6 separate regions of the Homo sapiens genome follow, and regions 2, 3, 4, 5 and 6 are each linked to region 1. Evidence: promoter capture Hi-C in 16 types of primary human blood cells and fetal thymus (Javierre and others, 2016). All regions are on one chromosome and are shown on one strand. Each heading gives the region's core, a stretch centred on a gene start or on the middle of the fragment in contact. The rest is flanking DNA. Distances are from core to core; before and after follow the strand shown.

What was found. Contacts are between HindIII fragments. The CHiCAGO score rates a contact against its expected background, and 5 or more counts as called.
Region 2: a contact is called between a fragment that was not itself captured here and the fragment with the promoter of PENK-AS1 in region 1, in 1 of 17 cell types (erythroblasts). The highest score is 6.0, in erythroblasts.
Region 3: a fragment that was not itself captured here is called in contact with the fragment with the promoter of PENK-AS1 in region 1 in 1 of 17 cell types (M2 macrophages); the score reaches 5.3 in M2 macrophages.
Region 4: a fragment that was not itself captured here is called in contact with the fragment with the promoter of PENK-AS1 in region 1 in 2 of 17 cell types (naive B cells and total B cells); the score reaches 8.8 in naive B cells.
Region 5: a contact is called between a fragment that was not itself captured here and the fragment with the promoter of PENK-AS1 in region 1, in 1 of 17 cell types (naive B cells). The highest score is 5.3, in naive B cells.
Region 6: a fragment that was not itself captured here is called in contact with the fragment with the promoter of PENK-AS1 in region 1 in 1 of 17 cell types (naive B cells); the score reaches 6.2 in naive B cells.

Annotation. Positions count from the first base shown.
Region 1 is chr8:56,444,406-56,447,425 of GRCh38, reverse strand. It overlaps PENK-AS1 (PENK antisense RNA 1), which reads right to left and starts at 1,619. Exons shown (of 4, transcript NR_125813.1): 1 at 926-1,619. PENK (proenkephalin) reads left to right here and starts at 785. Exons shown (of 4, transcript NM_001135690.3): 1 at 785-857; 2 at 945-1,000; 3 at 1,470-1,610. The coding sequence starts at 1,473. RefSeq lists an enhancer at 1,123-2,014. The HindIII fragment of the contact is 3,142 bases long and covers 1,023-3,020 here.
Region 2 is chr8:57,205,934-57,208,953 of GRCh38, reverse strand. No RefSeq gene overlaps it. Among named protein-coding and RNA genes, the nearest start is that of LINC01606, 11 kb to the left of the region's middle. RefSeq lists enhancers at 1-122, 2,909-3,020. The HindIII fragment of the contact is 3,082 bases long and covers 58-3,020 here.
Region 3 is chr8:57,124,684-57,127,703 of GRCh38, reverse strand. It overlaps the pseudogene RNA5SP266. Among named protein-coding and RNA genes, the nearest start is that of LINC01606, 92 kb to the left of the region's middle. The HindIII fragment of the contact is 1,323 bases long and covers 829-2,151 here.
Region 4 is chr8:57,105,619-57,108,638 of GRCh38, reverse strand. No RefSeq gene overlaps it. Among named protein-coding and RNA genes, the nearest start is that of LINC01606, 110 kb to the left of the region's middle. RefSeq lists an enhancer at 318-904. The HindIII fragment of the contact is 832 bases long and covers 1,110-1,941 here.
Region 5 is chr8:57,016,206-57,019,225 of GRCh38, reverse strand. No RefSeq gene overlaps it. Among named protein-coding and RNA genes, the nearest start is that of BPNT2, 24 kb to the right of the region's middle. The HindIII fragment of the contact is 2,103 bases long and covers 502-2,604 here.
Region 6 is chr8:56,968,277-56,971,296 of GRCh38, reverse strand. All of the region lies in intron 3 of BPNT2 (3'(2'), 5'-bisphosphate nucleotidase 2), which reads left to right. Among named protein-coding and RNA genes, the nearest start is that of BPNT2, 24 kb to the left of the region's middle. The HindIII fragment of the contact is 1,088 bases long and covers 841-1,928 here.

The DNA.
Region 1 (3,020 bases), core at 370-2,869:
GGCAGTAGGTCTTCGACTTGGGAGCCCCGGGGAGCTGGTTAAACACGGATCCTCTCCCACAGTGGCTGAAAAGCGCGCAGTCCCGGAACCTGAGGGTTTACCTGCTTCTACGCTTGGCCAAGGGTCTCTAACTGGAAAGGTGAAAATTCTGTCCTGAGATTTTAAGATTCCCAGAAACTTTCAATCGTTCAGTTCCTGTAACCATTAATTGAGCGCCTAAACTGCGCACCTTGACGCTGTTAGATGCTGCAGTAAGGAACTCGGAGTCAAGTGTGGGGGACAGGTTGGTCAATAAATGACGACATTCCGGACGGCTGTGCTTGGTGCCCACGGGGACCCGCGAGGGGGCCCAGGGAGGAGGCGGGAAAGGGGCAGGTTCACCGGCCCGCTGGGTCTCCAGCACATTCCAGAAGTCTAAGCCAGTCCATCTATCCTTCCAAACGCCCCCACCTCGCTTCCCTCCCTGGAGCCCGCATCCCACGGTGCAATTTCAGTGACTTTATGCGGAGAAACTTGATCCTATCTCACTCTCCCCAAACTTCCTAACTGCCTTGGGTTTGTCACCTGGCCGTGTGGGGAGCCACCGAGCGCCCCCTGTGGCCCCCACCCGAGCTCGGCGGGGGGAGCGGCGCGCGGGTGCTGGGGGACCGACCCCTCCCGCGAAGGCGTCGGCGCGGGGCTGGCGTAGGGCCTGCGTCAGCTGCAGCCCGCCGGCGATTGGGGCGCGCGCGCCTCCTTCGGTTTGGGGCTAATTATAAAGTGGCTCCAGCAGCCGTTAAGCCCCGGGACGGCGAGGCAGGCGCTCAGAGCCCCGCAGCCTGGCCCGTGACCCCGCAGAGACGCTGAGGACCGCGACGGTGAGGCCCTACGTCCGCCAGCACACCCGGGCCCGCTTCTCCCCGACGCCCGCCCTCCTCACACTTGCCTTCTTCTCTTCCCTCTAGAGTCGTGTCTGAACCCGGCTTTTCCAATTGGCCTGCTCCATCCGAACAGCGTCAACGTGAGTGAATTTGCCCGAAGCTTGTCTTTGCTGAGCGGGTTTGGGGACGTCTGCCCGCCCTCTTTCCCTTCACATTTCATTGCATGGGTTCCCCAACAGCGTTCCCTGGTTCTTCTTTGTGACCCCAGTCAATGTCCTGCCTCCCCCGGCTCCCGCTCTCTCGCCCCTGGTCTGCGGCGTTCTCTCCGGAATCTTGCCCTGGGCCGCGGACGCCCAGGAAAAGAGCCGGGTGCCCCAGGCAGCCTCGCGTTGGGGGCGACCGCGCCATCCCGGGAACCGCGAGGCGATCTGAGTCGCCTCCACGTCTACCTAAAAGCTGTCGGCCGGGAGGGCGGGGCCCCAGAAAGGAGCATTCCTGCGGGCTTTTGCTCGACGATCCCCTGCTGAGGCTGTCGCGGCGAGGGTCCTGCCGAGGGACCCCGTTCTGCGCCCAGGCAGGCTCGAAGCACGCGTCCCTCTCTCCTCGCAGTCCATGGCGCGGTTCCTGACACTTTGCACTTGGCTGCTGTTGCTCGGCCCCGGGCTCCTGGCGACCGTGCGGGCCGAATGCAGCCAGGATTGCGCGACGTGCAGCTACCGCCTAGTGCGCCCGGCCGACATCAACTTCCTGGTGAGTGTTGCGCGCGGCGAGTGTTGCGCACCTTGTGAGACAGAGTTTCCGCAACAGTACGCGGACTGCCTCCGGCCCACCGCGCGGCGCGTATGGCGGTTCGCACCGGGTCGGAGCCGCAGCGGCGCGAGCCCGTGGTGACCTGGGTGTCTCAGCTGTTCCTGGAACACTGACTGAAGTCCTGCCCTGGCTCTTAGCTTCGGGGATCCGCGACTATCTGGGGACCGGTAAGGGTAGCGGTGTCGCCGCACAAACCAAGTTTGTTTTAACCCTGGGAATTCGGGAACCCCGAGAAGTCCTCTGTTCAGCACCTCGGATAGCACTGGGTTCTCTCCTGGGCTGTCAGAAGGAAGATGGCTGTCACCACAACTCCTAACATATCCCAGCTAAGGGCCCCTCCACACGCAGTCATCTTCCCATCTTTCCCACAAATAATGTAATTTTTTGTTAGTGACATTTCGGTGCCTTTCTTTAGATTTATGTTCCCCAGCTCTCTTAACCTCAGGTCCCTCATTCCCTACCCTCACCTGTAAATAGGAGAGAGCAAAGGGATGGAAAAGGGGTACGGGGAGAGGAAGGCGAAATAACCGTAGACAGGAAAGAGTTCAAACTGTCTCACTAGCCAGTGATGCTGGAATTCAACTTCTGTTTCAACTGCCCTTTGTAATAGTAACTAAAACAACAGTTTAATTTGGCTATGAGAAAGGAACAAGAGAAGTGGCCAGTGTCCAATGGGTGACAACAGTCCAAAGATACACTGCACTACAGGGGGTTGGGGAAAGAAAAAGCTGAGGACAAAATAACTTTCATTCTGATCATGGTTCCCCATGGGCTGTCGAATCACCTCTGGTGCTCTACTGAGTCTGAATCTCCAACCTCGAGACTCAGGTAGCTTCACTTTTACCAGCTCCCCTGACAATTCCTTTGCATTGCTTTTGAAATTTGTTGAAATTTTATGGTGACTTAAAAAGCTCATAGAGAATAATGTATTCATCCAAGCTGCTTTGGGTTCCACCTGGAATTGAGGAAATTTTACCTTATGTAGATGTTTGAAATGGGGAGAAAACCAAGGAACAGTTTCCAAATATCTGTGGTATATATTTCAGGTTAAATGTTTGTTTCTTTGACCTGTGCTAACTTGGCATTAAAGAGAAGACACATAGGAAGGTTGTATATTTAAACTATGAGAAAAATGTTTCATCTTCAATAGGAGAAACAATCCCCTTCACCCATCTTTCTTCTTTCTCCTGTAGTCATGAGCTTTTAACCTATGCCTAAAAATTGAGCCAGTGCTACAAATATAAGGATAGATCTTGTGGATAAAGAATTTTAGACACAGAAGGAGGAAGAAAAATCCAAAACATGCCACATAGAAGACTCCACTTTCTGACCCCATAATTCCCTGTGCCC
Region 2 (3,020 bases), core at 349-2,848, 760 kb before region 1:
GTGACCGGAAAGCCCTAATACTCACCGCTCATCTTCTGACTCCCCTGCTCAAAAGCTTCCCATGATTTTCTGCAGGAAACCTGGCTGGCTCCCTATCCACGGAATTTCTTTCTTCTTTCTCGCTGGAGAAATGCAAGGTTATCGTGATCTTTATCACTCCCTCAACCCACCCCAGCTCCCGAAGGAGGAATGATCATTCTAAGCTCATCACAGCAATCACATGGTTTTCCCCAGTGACCGGCTTAGCAGTCGGCATGTGCTGTAACCCAGCCCATACGATGTTACCAGAAGTTCACCGCGAGCTGCTGACTTGACTGCCTCTTCAAAAGACACCTGGGAAGAAAAGCAACCCCTCCAGCCTTCGGATACTGCCTTCAGAGAACACACCAACTGCAGCTGTTGCTACTCGGCCCGCCAGCAAAGCAGACATGAACTAAACACTGCCCACAGCACAGCTGGAAGGGAAAACATGAGCATGACACGACGATGCTGACACAATTCTGGTGCCTATGGCTTCAGCCGCTCTTACTTGGGTCATCTACTATTTACAGCCACGAGCATCCTGAGAATGTGGCCGTGGCCCACAGAATATATCCTCTACCCCTTCTGCTCTGGACCGCTCAAAAATCTACCCTCAGCTCGCCTTTTCTAGACATTCAAACCACACCCAACCATTCCCGTACCACACTCTTGCCACCAGCAACACTGAGCTGCTCTCGAACCCGACAGAGTTCACGCGAGCCTCTGACCTTTGGAACTTGCCATTCCTTCGGGCAAGCAGGCAATCTTTTCCCGATGCTCCTGCGAATCCTGCGACCTTCTCAGACGTTCTCTCCACCATACCTGTTCTCTCCGTTCCACCCTGCCAGATGTCTATTCGGACAAAACGTTCCGTCTTCTCGCATGTCTCCTCTGCCAAACCACGGATCCCGTCACATGGCTCTTCTGCAAAACATTCGATCTCGTCAGATGTGTCTTCCGCCAACCACTCCATCCTGCCAGATGTTTCTGTGTTACCGTGGGCGGCTGGTCAGACAGGAGCAGCGCGGGAGAGGGCCACGCCCACACCCCACCAGACACATCAGGCGACCAGGAGGCGACGGGTCAGGCTGCCATTAAACTACCTGTCTCAAATAATAAATGATTGCCGGGAGCCGGTGCCAGGGACGGGCGGTCCCCCAGACAGACAGAAACCCCGGAAGGTGGCGATTAGCAGCTCCCTGAGAAGATCTCAGGGGGCGCGTGACGGGGCTCATGCTTGCACACTCACAGGCAAACCGGCCGGGTTTTACTGTCCTACGACCCTCCCCAGGCAACATCCGACTGCCAAGGGAGGCACGCCTCATGTGAGCGCCCCTATGACTCCAGGAAACACGCCACGCCTGCGGTCCCTCCCAGGTGATGACAGGCCACTGCCCATGTGGATGGCCCACCCTGAGAAAAGGCTCAGGGGAGGAAGCAATGCAACCCCTGGCTCTTGGAAGCCTGCCAATGTGTGAGACCTCGCCTCAAAGGTCGAACAAAGCGTGCCCCCGACCTCTCCAGTTGCCCACATGGCCCTCTTCCAAGTATACCTTACTGCCTCGTCTTTCTGCTCTGGTACCATCTGGGAGACCTGCACTCCTGCGCTCAAACAGGCCTCGGTCTCTTTCACTCCGCCTCACGCCCCTCAGTTAAACTCCCTCTGATGAGGTGAGAGCTCGGGTTGCTGCCTGCAGGCCCCTATGGATCTGCCACCGCTGACATCCCTACCGCCAAACGCTCCATCTTGGTGGATGTTTTCTCTCCCAGATGTTCCCTCTTTCCAGATGCTTCCTTTGCAAGCCACGCACTCTTCCTAGGCATTCCGTCTGCCCACCATGGAATCTGCTCAGAGGTTCCTTCTGCCCACCGTGCGACCTGCTAAAGGGTTTCTGCTGTCTACCATGTCATCTTCACACTTGGGCCTTCTGCCAAACGTGCAATCTACCTGAGGGTTCCCTCTGCCAAACAGCCAGTTGCGTCCACTTCTTCCCCTGACAAGCATTCAGTTTTGTCTGGCGCACCATGGGCCCAATACTTCCTCTACCCAGATGTCTCTTGGGCAGGCCTTGCAATCTCCCTAGGGCATCCAACTGCTGATCCCGCAGTCTTCTCACGGGTTCCCTTGCCCCCCAGCACCCCTGCAATCACCCTACCCTAAGGTTTCCTCCTGCTGACCATGCGATGTTCTTAGCCGTTCCTTCTGAAATCGCTGCAGTCTGCTTAGATGTTCCCTCTGCCACACGCTCAGGGCTGTCAGATGTTCCTTCCACCAGACACTCCATCTCGTCGGATGATCTGCCACGCGTTCAATCCTGTCAGGTGTCCCTCTCAGTCACACGTGTGGAGCGGGGCCCGAGAGGGTTCCCCACCACCAGTAAACATCAGGCAGCCACAAGGTGATGGCCCGGTGGTCACGAAGCAGACTCTCTAGAGAAATCACTGATCACAGGCAGCACCAGGGAAAGGCAGTCCCCCTCCCCGACAGCAGTCACGAACCTCAGAAGCCTCCCCAGCACACCTCGGGAGTTGGGTGAATGGGCTCATACGTGCACCCTGAGAGGCAAACTGGTGGAAGGTTCACTGATCTGGGATGTTTTCCCCTGGGCACATTCATCTGCTTGTGGGACGAACGCCTCAAGAGAGCATGAGAACAACTCCAGTAAGCACACGGCGCCTCCGCGCCCCCATGAGATGGTGACAGGCCACTGTGCTAGTGAACAGCCCCCTCTTCCCCGCCGAGGGAAGCATCAGAGGACAGGCAGCGATGCTGCCGACGCGGGAGACCCTGAGTCCAAGGTCCAGTCCTGTACTCCACCTCTCAGGTCACCGCCCACCTGGGCCTCTTCCAAGCCTCCTTGACTTCCTTTGGCTCCTGCCACGATACCATTTCAGGAACTTTCGCCCCTGCTCTAATGCGTGCCTCGGTCTCTCACTCTACCGTGTGCCACTCGATGTCTTTCTTCTCAGGAGGCAGGAACCGAGGTTGCCACAGGCCC
Region 3 (3,020 bases), core at 241-2,740, 680 kb before region 1:
GACTGATCAAAGACAAAACTGCATGTGTGAGAAGAGAATGCCAGGAGCCCAGCTGTGAGCCTGATGCTGGGGAGGCTTGCTGCATGAAAAGTAATTCTTCTATATGTGGCTCACCCTACTGTTAAAAGGAAAAGCCTCACCAAGTTAGAAATACTTAGTTAGAGGAATTCAGACTTTTCATTGAAGCCCCAAAAAGTTCACATAATAAGGACAAGTTCACTATTTTATAGCTGTAGTTCAAATACATAATAGAAAACACTAGTGCAAAGATATAGAATCAACCTAAGTACCCATTGACCAAAGAGTCAATAAAAAAAATGTGGTATATATACACCGTGGAATACTACTCACCATTAAAAAAAAATGATATAATGTCTTTTGCAGCAACTTTGATGGAGCTGGAAGCCATTATTCTAAGTGAAGTAACTCAGGAATGCAAAGTCAAATATCATATGTTCTCACTTATAAGTGGGAGCTAAGCTATGAGGACGCAAAGGCATAAGAATGACATAATGGACTTTAGGGACTCAGGGAGGAAGGTTGGAAGAAGAGTGAGGGATAAAAGACCACATATTGGGTACAATGTACACTGCTCGGGTGATGGCTGCAATAAAATCTCAGAAATCACCACTAAAGAACTTACCTGTGTGACCAAAAACCACCTGTACCCAAACAACGATTTAAATTTAAAAAGATTTTTTAAATCCTTCAAATCTAAAAACAAACAAAAAAAGGGAAAACACCTGTGCTAATTAATCCCAGGACTAATTAAGGACCAAAACCTTAAAACTAAGGACAAAACTGGAATAGACTAACCTTAGCAAAGCTTAAAACAAGTTTTGAAATAATCAAAGTGAGGTGCCAGGAATTTTTAAAAACTTTTTACTTTTAAATAATTCTAGATTTATAGAAAAGTCACAGACATAGTACAAAGAGTTCTCATAGTCTACCATACCACTCTGAACACACCTGATCTTGTCTGATCTCGGAACCTACGCAGGGTTTGGTCTGGTTAGCACTTGGATGAAAGAGTTCTCATATACACTTCACCCAACTTCCCTAATACTAGCATCTTGCATAATCACAGCACAGTTAATGAAATCAGAAAATTAACATTAATATAATGCTATTAACTAAACTTCAAGCCAGACTTTGTTCAAACTTCACCAGTTTTTTGCTAATCTTCTTTTCTGTTCCCACAGTGTATTCAGTTATATCTTTTTAGTCCCCTCCAATTGGCAATACCTCCTCCAATCCTCATTCTTTCCTTGTTTGCTATGACCTTAATACTTTTGATAATTGCTGATCAGTTATTTCATAGAATGGTCCTTACTTTAGATTTCTCATGATTAGACTGAGATTGATTAGACTGAGATTATGCATTTTATGTGAGAATGGCACAGAAGTGATGTTGTGCCTTTCTTAGTGCAGTATATCAGGTCATACATGCTGTCAATGTGCCTTATTACTGATATTTCTAACCTTGAACACTTGATTAAGACAGTGTGTGCAGTTTCTCCACTGTAAAATTACTATTTTTCTTTTATAATTCACCAATATTTTGTGAGAAATAATTTGAGACTACATATGCTGTTTCTCCCCAACATTAATTTTAGTATCCATTGGTGAATCTTGCCTACAGCAATTATTCTTGTGGTATTTGCCTAATAGTAATTTTGTATTTCCTCCATATCTTCTTCATATATTAATTAGAATTATTCTGTAAGGGAAAGCCTTCTCTTTTCACCCATATATGTATTTATTCAATCACTTATTTATATCCACATGGGGTCATGGATACCTGTTTTATTCTATAAGTTATAATCCACACTATTATTGAGATGGGGGAATTCCCTGATATTCCATGCAGGACATGTGGCAGAGGTGTGGCTACTGTGTTCAGCCACCGTGTGCTCAAACCCCCTATGGGAGGGGGAGCAAGCAGATGGGCAGGTGCAGGAGCCGGGGCACGTGCTGTGGGGCTCCGGTCCCATGGTAGCATCTAGGAGTGGGTGGCTGCCCAAGTGGTGTGATGTGTGTTACAGTGTGCTCTTTCAGCTTTGTCTAAAATAAAATAAAGTAAAATAAAATAAAATATAAATATACCCATGGCTAGTATTCTACAGTGACAAAGGGAATAAACCAAAAGCTTACTTTTAGAAATGCCATTAGTTCTGTGGCTTAGTGTACCTTTTAAATCAATAAAATCATATAAGAGAATCATATATTTCATATCCTCTTCAGCTTATAGGAAAAGTGGCATACTCCTTTCCTTGGCCCTTTACCTGACATCTTCAGAATGCCAGAAGTATAACTTAAGTTCTTGTTTGGCACTCATTTATGCTTCCTCTGAGCAAAGAACTCAGAGATCAGCATTTCCATAATAATTTGTCAAAGACAAAAAAAAATTAGCACCTTGACTTCAAGCGTAATTCTAAGAAAGCTTAATCTTTGCACCCCAGGGAGGAGTTGATCCTGGCACACTGGGGCTTCACCATCTCAATCTGGACATTTCACATTGCCCAAGACCTCAGTTGCACATGGAAGTCACAAAAATACTTAGGAATGTTATTGCTGTTTAGGAATGTTAAAATCTGGACTAATGGAAGGGAAAAAAGTCCAGTCCTGGGTACCATTGTGCTTGATCCAAGTAGTTGTTCCTACCCTGCATTCACAGTAGCAACAGGTATGCAGCTATAATTTACCTGGTAGTCAAGGGACAAATACATCTCTGCTAGACTGGAATGAAGTAGTTATGGAAAACACTATTACAAGTTATAACAATACAATAACAACTGCCACCACCGTTGAATGATTTCTGTGTGCTGGAGACTGTTTTAATTTTTAAAATTAATTCATCTCAATTATCACTGAGAGATAATAACAACTGCAAACACTTTGCATAGTCACTTATCTGCCAGGGGCAATTATTTGTTAACTCATTTAATTGCCACAGGAACTCTCTGGAGGCACTATACATATTCCTGTGTAAAGCATGAGGAGCATGAAGCACAGCGTGA
Region 4 (3,020 bases), core at 276-2,775, 660 kb before region 1:
ATGGTGGTGGATTTAAAATCAAATCATATATAGCGAATGTCTAAGAGTATATCTGGTGTACAGATTTTTCTCCTCTAGCTCAGCTCTTTAAACTTTACTCAAAATGAAAATTTTGCTCCTGATGGTTGCATATCAAATCAGTCAGTCTGGTAATTCCAGCGTCTATAGCCACCAGTCAACTAACACTGAGAATGCTGTGGCCGTTTCAGATTAAATGTAGTTTATCAGCAAAAAGCACAGATCTTCTTTGAGAATCACAGCCTAAGATCACTTTGAAGATTGCCTTTTTTCTGAAGATGTCTCACTGGCCCTGGCCACATGACTGTAGTGGGCAGAATTCCAAGATGTGTGCCTGTCTTGCACATGTACTGAGAATCCCCTCGCCTTGAGTGTGGAATGGACTATATTGGAGTATCAGTATTATGATTTAACCAATAATCAATTAGCTTTGAGTTCAAAAGCAGTATAATCCTGGATAACACTGGCATAATGAAAGGAGCCTTTGAGAGAAGGTGAAGCATCCAAGACACACTCTCCTGGGGGCCTCAGAGAAGAAAGCAAACAGCCATGGTATAAACCACCTATGGAGAGGGGCTTTGTCTAGGCTGAAAGCCTCAATTGTATCACCACAAAGAACTTAAGTCCACCAACATGAAAATGAGCTTGGAGGAAGACCCCACACTCTAGGCAAGGACGACAGTGCAGCTGACACCTTCACTGCAGCTTTGGGAGACCCTGAGCAGATGACCCAATCAAGCCAGGCCCATTCCTGACCCATAGAAACAGGAAATTAAATGAGTGTTTTTATAAGCACTGAATTTATGACAATTAGTTATTCACAATAGCAAACCACTACAGTGCCCTACCTGTGGGATCCACATGCTGCCCTCAGTGGTAACAAAGGCTCATAACACCTGCACTGTATTGGTTTCTAACGTCTGCGTGAAAGTTGCATATACCAGGATGGAATCCCTTTCATCAGATCCAGAAAATATAGGTCTGGGAAGGCCCAAAAGAGGGAAGACTCATGTTTATGTGTCTGAAATGTGAACCAAGGACTTTCTAAAAACTCTTTCATGTCCTTCATGCATATTTTGTTTGGATAAGCTTTATCACTAGACATTAGAACTGCAGTATTCAGATAAGATTTTCTTAGAACACTTGCCCAGTAAGGGCATCTCCGCCAATGAACTGACAACCAGTCTGGCTTTGAACCTCTGGAACCAATGGACTCTGATTCTAAGCAGCTTAGTAAATCTCTTTTTAGCTGGTGAAAGGTCCCCATACAACCCTCTCACTGAATGGACTGGTGGCTTGCCATTTCGTGCATTTCAGATTATAATCCTTATTTTTACTTCTGAGTAAACCCAACATAGTTAGAGATAATTGTCCCTAGTGTAATTTTTAGATTGTCATTTGTTTATATGGGAGCACAGCAGAACCACTGAGCTGCCCAGGAAGAAGAGCCCTATAGTCCCTTTCAACTCCATACTGTCAAAAAAATATTAAGTTGCGCCGAGTGTTGATTTGGTGCTATGGTTAAATATGCATAAATAGTCTTATATAGAAAAAGGAAAGTAATATTTACTGAATAGATCTAATGAGTCTTCATTTCACATACACTAATTGCTTGTAATCTTCACAAAACCCTCTAAGACAACTTTTACTTTCCCTATGGTTCAAATGAGGTCATTAAACCTCAGAAAGTTTAAATAACTTACCCTATCATATAACTAGTAGGTAATCGAGCCAGTATTCAAATACTGAGATCCCCTGGACAGAATATCCTATGTTTTTTGGTCTATTTTATCAATAGTATGCTACAGGAATGCAGCTGCCAAACAACAGTCCTTAGAACACTTTTGGTCTAAGTTTAAAGAAGGTCTCAAAATTCAAGCAGTTAAAAACTGCTGCATGACCAGTTAAAAGTGCATTCAAGCTTATCTGCCTTCCTTGAATGCTTTCTCATTAATGCCAGGAGTACATTACATTAGGGCATGACAAGATGATGTGTTAGCTTAGTGGATATTTCCTGTTAACATATTCATTACAGTTAATTACAACATCTTTATTTCTTGGCAGATTTTCTGGAAGCCAAAACAGATGGATTGTTTTTTAAAAGAATATGAAAAGCATGTCATGACAATGATTCCTGTGGTGCATTTTTTTCTTTTTAATTTTCCTAAACATAAAATAAAAATATAGATTTCACAGAGGAACACTTTCAGTGCAATACAACTTCCTTTGAACTTCACATAATAGCTTACACTTATTATCACCTAACCAGCCATCTTTGACTTTATGCAATGGGCAGTGTCCATAAGAGTTCATTAAGTGCATCAATTAAGAGACAAGAAAGAAAAATATACTTTGATATATGAATTTATGTGCACTGATGCTGACACTCTTGCTACCTCTTTGTCATTTACAGTTGACCTTGCATACTTGTAGGGAGCATAGGGCATGTCCCATTTGTACCTTTAGAGTTTCAAGAAGTACTGTATCATTAAAATTATTTAAATGATGAGCCAAGAGATCAGTGAAAGAACTGTATTGTACATTTTTAAATGGTAGTATCATTATTGTAATTGTGAAATTTATTCACAATTATTTTCTTTAAAAAATTTTTAAATTATTTTTAAAATGTTTTGTGGGCACATAGTAGACGTATATATTTATGGGGTACATAAGATGTTCTGATACAGGGATATAATGTGAAGAATGGGGTATCCATTTCCTCAAGCCTTTGTCCTTTGAGTTACAAACAATTTAATTACCTTCTTGAAATTATTTAAAAATATACAATTGAGTTATTGTTGACTATAGTCACCCATTGTGCTATCATATAGTAAGTCTTACTCATTCTTTCTATTTTTTATGTATCCATTAACCATCCCCACCTCTCCCTTAGTCCTCTACTACCCTTCCCAGCCTCTGGTAATTTCTTGCTACTCTCTATGTTCATGAGTTCAGTTTATTTGATTTATAGATCCCACAAATAAGTGAGAACATGCAATGTT
Region 5 (3,020 bases), core at 304-2,803, 570 kb before region 1:
AATTTTACCAAATGCATTTTCTTCCTATATTGAAACAATCATATGATTTTCTTTATATTTCATTAATATATAAATTATATTGCTTGATTTTCCAATGTTATAGCAACCTCTCACTTCTTTCACAAATTCTACTTAGTTATAATATATAATCATCTATACATATTACTGGATTCTCCATGACAACTTTGTTAAGGGCTATTTTGTCCATGTTCATCAGTGGTATTGTTCATAGTTTTCTTTTCTTGCAATGCCTTTGTCTGATTTTGCTATCAGAGTCATGATGGATTCATAAAATGAGTTGGAAAGTATCAACTTATATTTTCTGAAGGAGTTTACAGAATTATATTATTTCAATTTAAAAATTTTACTGATTTTAGCTTCTACATTTATTAGTTCCTTCTTTTACTTATTATTAAATTCAAATTGTTGTTTTTTCTAGTTTATGAAGTCAGAAGCTTAGATTATTAATGTTAGTCTTTTTTCTAACAGTAATTTAAAGCTTTACATTTTGCTTTATGCTCTGCTCTACTTATGTCTCACATGTTTTGATATATTGTGCTTTCTTATCATTCAGTTTGAAATTTTTTTAATGTTTCTTGTGATTATTTGACCCATGTGTTATTAAGGTGTGTGTGTGTGTGTGTGTGTGTGTGTGTAACGTTCTAGTGTTTGGATATATTCCATGTATCTTTTGGTTATTGATTTTTAACTTGAATCTGGTATAGTCAGAAAACATTGCCTGTTTAATTTCAATCTTCTTAAATTTAGTGAAAATTTTATTTCTTTCTTCATTATTTTAATGTTTCCTTTAGACTGCTAATTCTGTCACCTATGTCATTCTTAGTCTGACTCTATTAACTGATTTTTCTCCTCTGTATGTGACATTTTTCTGCTTCTTCACCTCTGTACTAATTTTAATTGGGTGCTTATTATTGTTAATATAATGTTGTTTGTCTAGTTTTGTTAACTTCTTTTAAAAATTGTCACATTTTCTTCCGGTAGGCAGTTAATTTAATTGCAGAACAACTTGACCCTTTTGAAACTTGTTTTTAGGTTTGTTAGGATGAGTTTGGATTAGCCTTTACTCTAAAACTACTTTGGTTCTCCTCTTAAGTAATGACAGCTCTTTGGTCTCTACTGAATGTTCTGGTTGTTCAGCATGGTTGCTTTAGCTGGTTGGCTAGAACTCAATATCCACAACCAGCCCAATGTTATCTACAGTAATGTTCTGCCCTGTATAATGTTTCCTTTCTCATTCACTTGGGGTCACTCTATACCTGCAGAACTGAATAATCAGTCAGAAAGTCAAGAGTACTCAATGCAGGTATCTGGAACTGTTTTTCTGCATCATCCCTTTTACTTTGGACTCTTTCTTATGAATTCCTGTCACCTAACCTTCCCCAGCTCAAGGAGGACTCCACATTCTTCTTCCTCTGGGCTAATTCTGTGCCTGCACGGCCCTGGCAGCAAACATCTCTCTAAATTTTGCATCTTCTGGATCTCACTGGACTTTCCCTCATATGGCCCTGTTCCTGCTTCACTCCTTCCTGTGCCAAAATTCACTAAATGCCTGCAGCAGAAAACAGAGATGACCGCAAGCCTCACCTTGCTTACTTCCCTTCTTTTGGGAGTCAGGATCATGAGCTTCCTGTTGTTGAATGTCTGAGAAGTATTGTTTTTATATATTTTGTCCAGGTTTTTTGTTGTTTAGGCAGGAGTGTGAATTAGTCCCTGTTATTCAATCTTGGCCAGAATAAATGTCTCCTAAACCCTATCTTAAAAATCTAAATAAATGATCCAAAGATTTTTCAAATGATGTTAATAAAATCTACAAAAGCAAAATACAAAAGCATCAATAGAAACTCAAGCAATCACGAAACAAGATAAATTCTTCAAACTTATCCCCAATCAGTAATATATAAATTTTTGTTTTAAATCCTTAATGTATTTAAACATATATTTAATAGCAAAATTATGCAGGCATAGTTTTATCTATTTTATAACTTTATTTTATGTAGCTGTTATGATACTCGTATAGTCTAATTTCAGTGCACTTTAACATTTGTTACTTCTTGTGATCCTAATATAAAACCCATGAGATAGGTAGAGTATCGCTAAACCTGGAAAATAGGTATCTTAATTCCAAATCATTATCAGACTAAACAAATACAATAGATTTAAAAGGCTCTAAAGTCTTTCTGGTTCATATAAATTACCATACTTTGCAGAAACTGCAAATAATAGGGAAGACCAGTAAAACTGAAAGAGGCAGCTGAGGGTTTACATTGAAATAATACTTGAATATCTGCCCGTCTAGGGGGTTTGTCACTTTTCAAATATAAATATAAATGCAGGACATGAGAGTAGATGAGCCTTTACAGGGAAAAACAAAAAGAGGAGTTGTCTAACACCTTAATTCATCTTTTGCAATATTCCTAAGTCAGAAAACACAATAAACATAATAAAAATAATGGTAGCTTTTAATTAGGTACCTGCTGTATGATCAGCTCTGTATTAAGCACTCGTTATAGAATTTAATTCTCACATCAATGCATGTGGTAGCTATTATTACTAGCCACTTTTACAGATGCACAAACTAAAGCTTAGAGGGATTAAGAACCCAACTGAAGTTTATGTAGTTTAAAACTGAGTGAGCCTTCATATGATCCAACTTGAATTTCTGACTTTAAAGCCCACACTCTTAACCATAATTATATCACTACCTCATTAGAAACAAAACAAAACAAAACCCTGCCTTATGGCTTCATGTTGAGACAGAGGTTCTTAATTTTTTCTTTGCCACATTCCTGTTTATGTTAATGATCATAGGGTTTATCATGAAGCTCATATGACCCAAGCAATATTAAGTTGATTTTAAAAACTATCTCATGGAAAACTTGGCAAAGGGTGAAAGAAAAGTAGCCAATTCAAATGCATAAGGATATATGTTTCACAGATTTGAAAAAAATCAAAGTGATTTCTGGTTTCAATAATTTCTGAGCATGCCAATTCCCGAACCC
Region 6 (3,020 bases), core at 135-2,634, 520 kb before region 1:
CTACTGGGCTTTTTTTTTTTTTTTTTTAAGCTTATCTTACAGGTAAAATAAACACATTTTGTAGCTGCTCTTCTGCCTTACCACTATACCTCATTATCATCCATCATTTACATTTATTTAAGCACCTACTGTACTAGACACTTGAAATAATTATGTTCATGTAAGTGTTACTAATAAATGTATTGAGTTTATGTAACATGAAGAACATTTTTAAAAATACTAAGTCAGCAATTCTTACATTATTCTGGTAGTATGTACTGAGATATGCTATAATATTTTTATTCTCTTACACAATACTGACCTCTAGAGATAAAGCACTGTAAATTCACTTCTTAGTAAAACTGGTTTTTGGAATATTTATGAAAAGGATTAAGAGGATTTTTTGTTTTGTTCTCTTCATTTTTTTTTACTTTTATGAATAATTTCAAACAAACGTAAAATTATAATGAATACTTATATACCCCTTCATCCTGATTTAGCAGTTGATAACAGTTTTACATATTTGCTTTCCTATTTTTTGGCCTGTGTACCTTAAAGAAAATTATAAGGATCATAATAAACATTTTACCCTTATACTTCAGTATGCATCTCTAAAAAGTAAGGAGATTTTCTACAAAAGGACAGTATATTAATATAATAAAATTAACAGTTATTTCCTAATGTCATCAAATATTTACATTTCCCCGATTGCTGCTAAAATGGATTTTACAGCTGATTGCTTCAAACCAAGATCCAGTCAACCAACAAGCATTTATTTTGGTTGATAGGTTGTTAAGGTTTCTTAATCTAGAACAACCCCTAGGCCCCTTATGCCCCCCATGACATTGATGTTGGGAAGCTTAAGTCATTTCTCCTTTAGAATGGTCTGTCTTTTGGACTTGTCTGATTGTTTCCAAAGGGTGTCATTTAACTTCTTTATTTTTATATCCTCTTATAAAAAGTGCAGATTAGATCTGAATCCTTGATTGGATTGAGGTTAAGCATTTTTGTCATGAATACATTGTAGGTATTTTTCACATACTTCCTACTGCATCATATTACACAATACTTGTCTCGCCATTCATGATGCTCAGATGATTAAAGTGTTCATGACCTGATCTCTTAGTTACAAAATTTTTATTTTTTTGCTACTAGCAAGTAATCTGGAGAGATTTTGACATCATTTGAGATCCAGTTTTATTAAACCTTTTGCATAATAGTTTTAAGCTCTATTAAAGATGTTATAAAATGAGATTTTCTGTTTCTGTTGTTTCTACATATATTAGCATGAATTCTTCTATAGAGAATTTTCTCTATTAACTGGAATTAATTTGTTTATCCTGAAATGTTTCTTCTAGAAAAGCGGGATAAATGTTTAATTCTTTTACTTTATTTACCAATTTTCAGAGTAAGGAGTTAGAGTATAGAACCCTTCCAGCGGTAACATGTTTTTCCAGGAAGGAACAGGCTTCCTCTCTGTAAAATATTCTTATGATCTTAATGAATTTTATATGTTCAGTGTGGTTCAGACAACTACTGTTATTTTAAGTTAAATTTGTTCTTTTTGTTGCTTTTACTAATGCCTTTATTTATCCTTTTTTCTTTACATACTCATGTAGTCCTTTTCTTTAGACATTGTCTCATTGTCTCTTGGTTCACTACTATAAGCGTCAGTGAAATTAGCATATTTCATCCTTGACCATCATTTCATTTTAGACAGTTGTTTTTTTTTGATGTTTACTTTTCGACTCTGCTGTTCAGCTTGTCAGAGTTAAATGGTGTCCTTTAACTTTTATCAGCCAAGTATGAGAAAACCATTTATACACCTTTATTCTTTTACCTTATTCCCATCTTTGGTTTCCCCTTAAATCCACAGTTAAATTTGTTCAATGGTAACCGACAATGCATTTGCTAAGAGTTTCTCAGTCACCCCTTGGTTGGATAAAGCTTGTCCTGTAATAGATTACCTTAGAAGAGCTAACTCATGGTATGATCTTCCCTGAGTACATGCTAACAACTTTGTCTATAGTCTTGATACTTAAAAGACTACTTGGCTAGTTATACAGTCTTTGGTTCACTCTGTATTAGTTTCCTCGGGCTGTCGTAACAAGTTAACCACAAACTTGAAACAACAGAAAATTATTCTTTCAAAGTTTTGGAGGCCAGAAGTCTGGTATCAAGGAGTCAGTGGGGCCATACTTTCTCTGCAGGCTTGGAGGAAGTTTTCTCTTGCAGCTTCTGGTGGCTCCAGACATTGTTGGCATTCCTTAGTCAGTAGATGCATCACTCCAGCCAGTCTCTGCCTATCTTCACATGACAGTCTCCTTTCTGTCTCCCCTGCTTATAAGGACACCAGTCATTAGATTTAGAGCTCACCTGTCATTAGATTTAGAGCCCACCTTACTCCACTATGACCTCAGCTGAACTAATTGCATTTGCAAAGATCCTGCTTCCAAATGAGTTCACAATCTGAAGGTTCCAAGTGGACATGAAGTTTGGTAGGATACTGTTCATTCAACCCACTAAACTTCAATGATGTAACTATGATGTCTTTTAGAATTGGCATTCTGGGCAAATTTCCCATGTACTCAGTATGTCTCTCAGTGTAGATGTTTAGGTCCTCTCCTAATTTTTTTATTTTGTTAGAGACAAGATCTCACTCTGTTGCCCAGGCTGAAGTGCAGTGGCATGATCATAGCTCACTGCAGCCTTTAACTCTTGGGCTCAACAAGTGATCCTCCGACCTTGGCCTCCCAGAGTACTAGGATTATAGGCACAAGCCACTGAGCCCAGACTAAGGTTCTCTTTTGTTTTTTAGGGACATTTTCTTGAATTGCAATTTTAAAGATTAGCTCTATCCCATTAATTTTTCTTTTTCAGGGACTCCTTATATATGTATGTTGACTCTTTTTTGTTTTTTTTTTTTTTAATCTATCACTTTCTCTGTGATCCCTTTTATCTGTTTACTTGTTTCACTTTCCTTTTTGCTTTTCTCATTGCTTGCTATACTTTTGGAGAAGTCTGTTGCCCTTTGTGTGTCC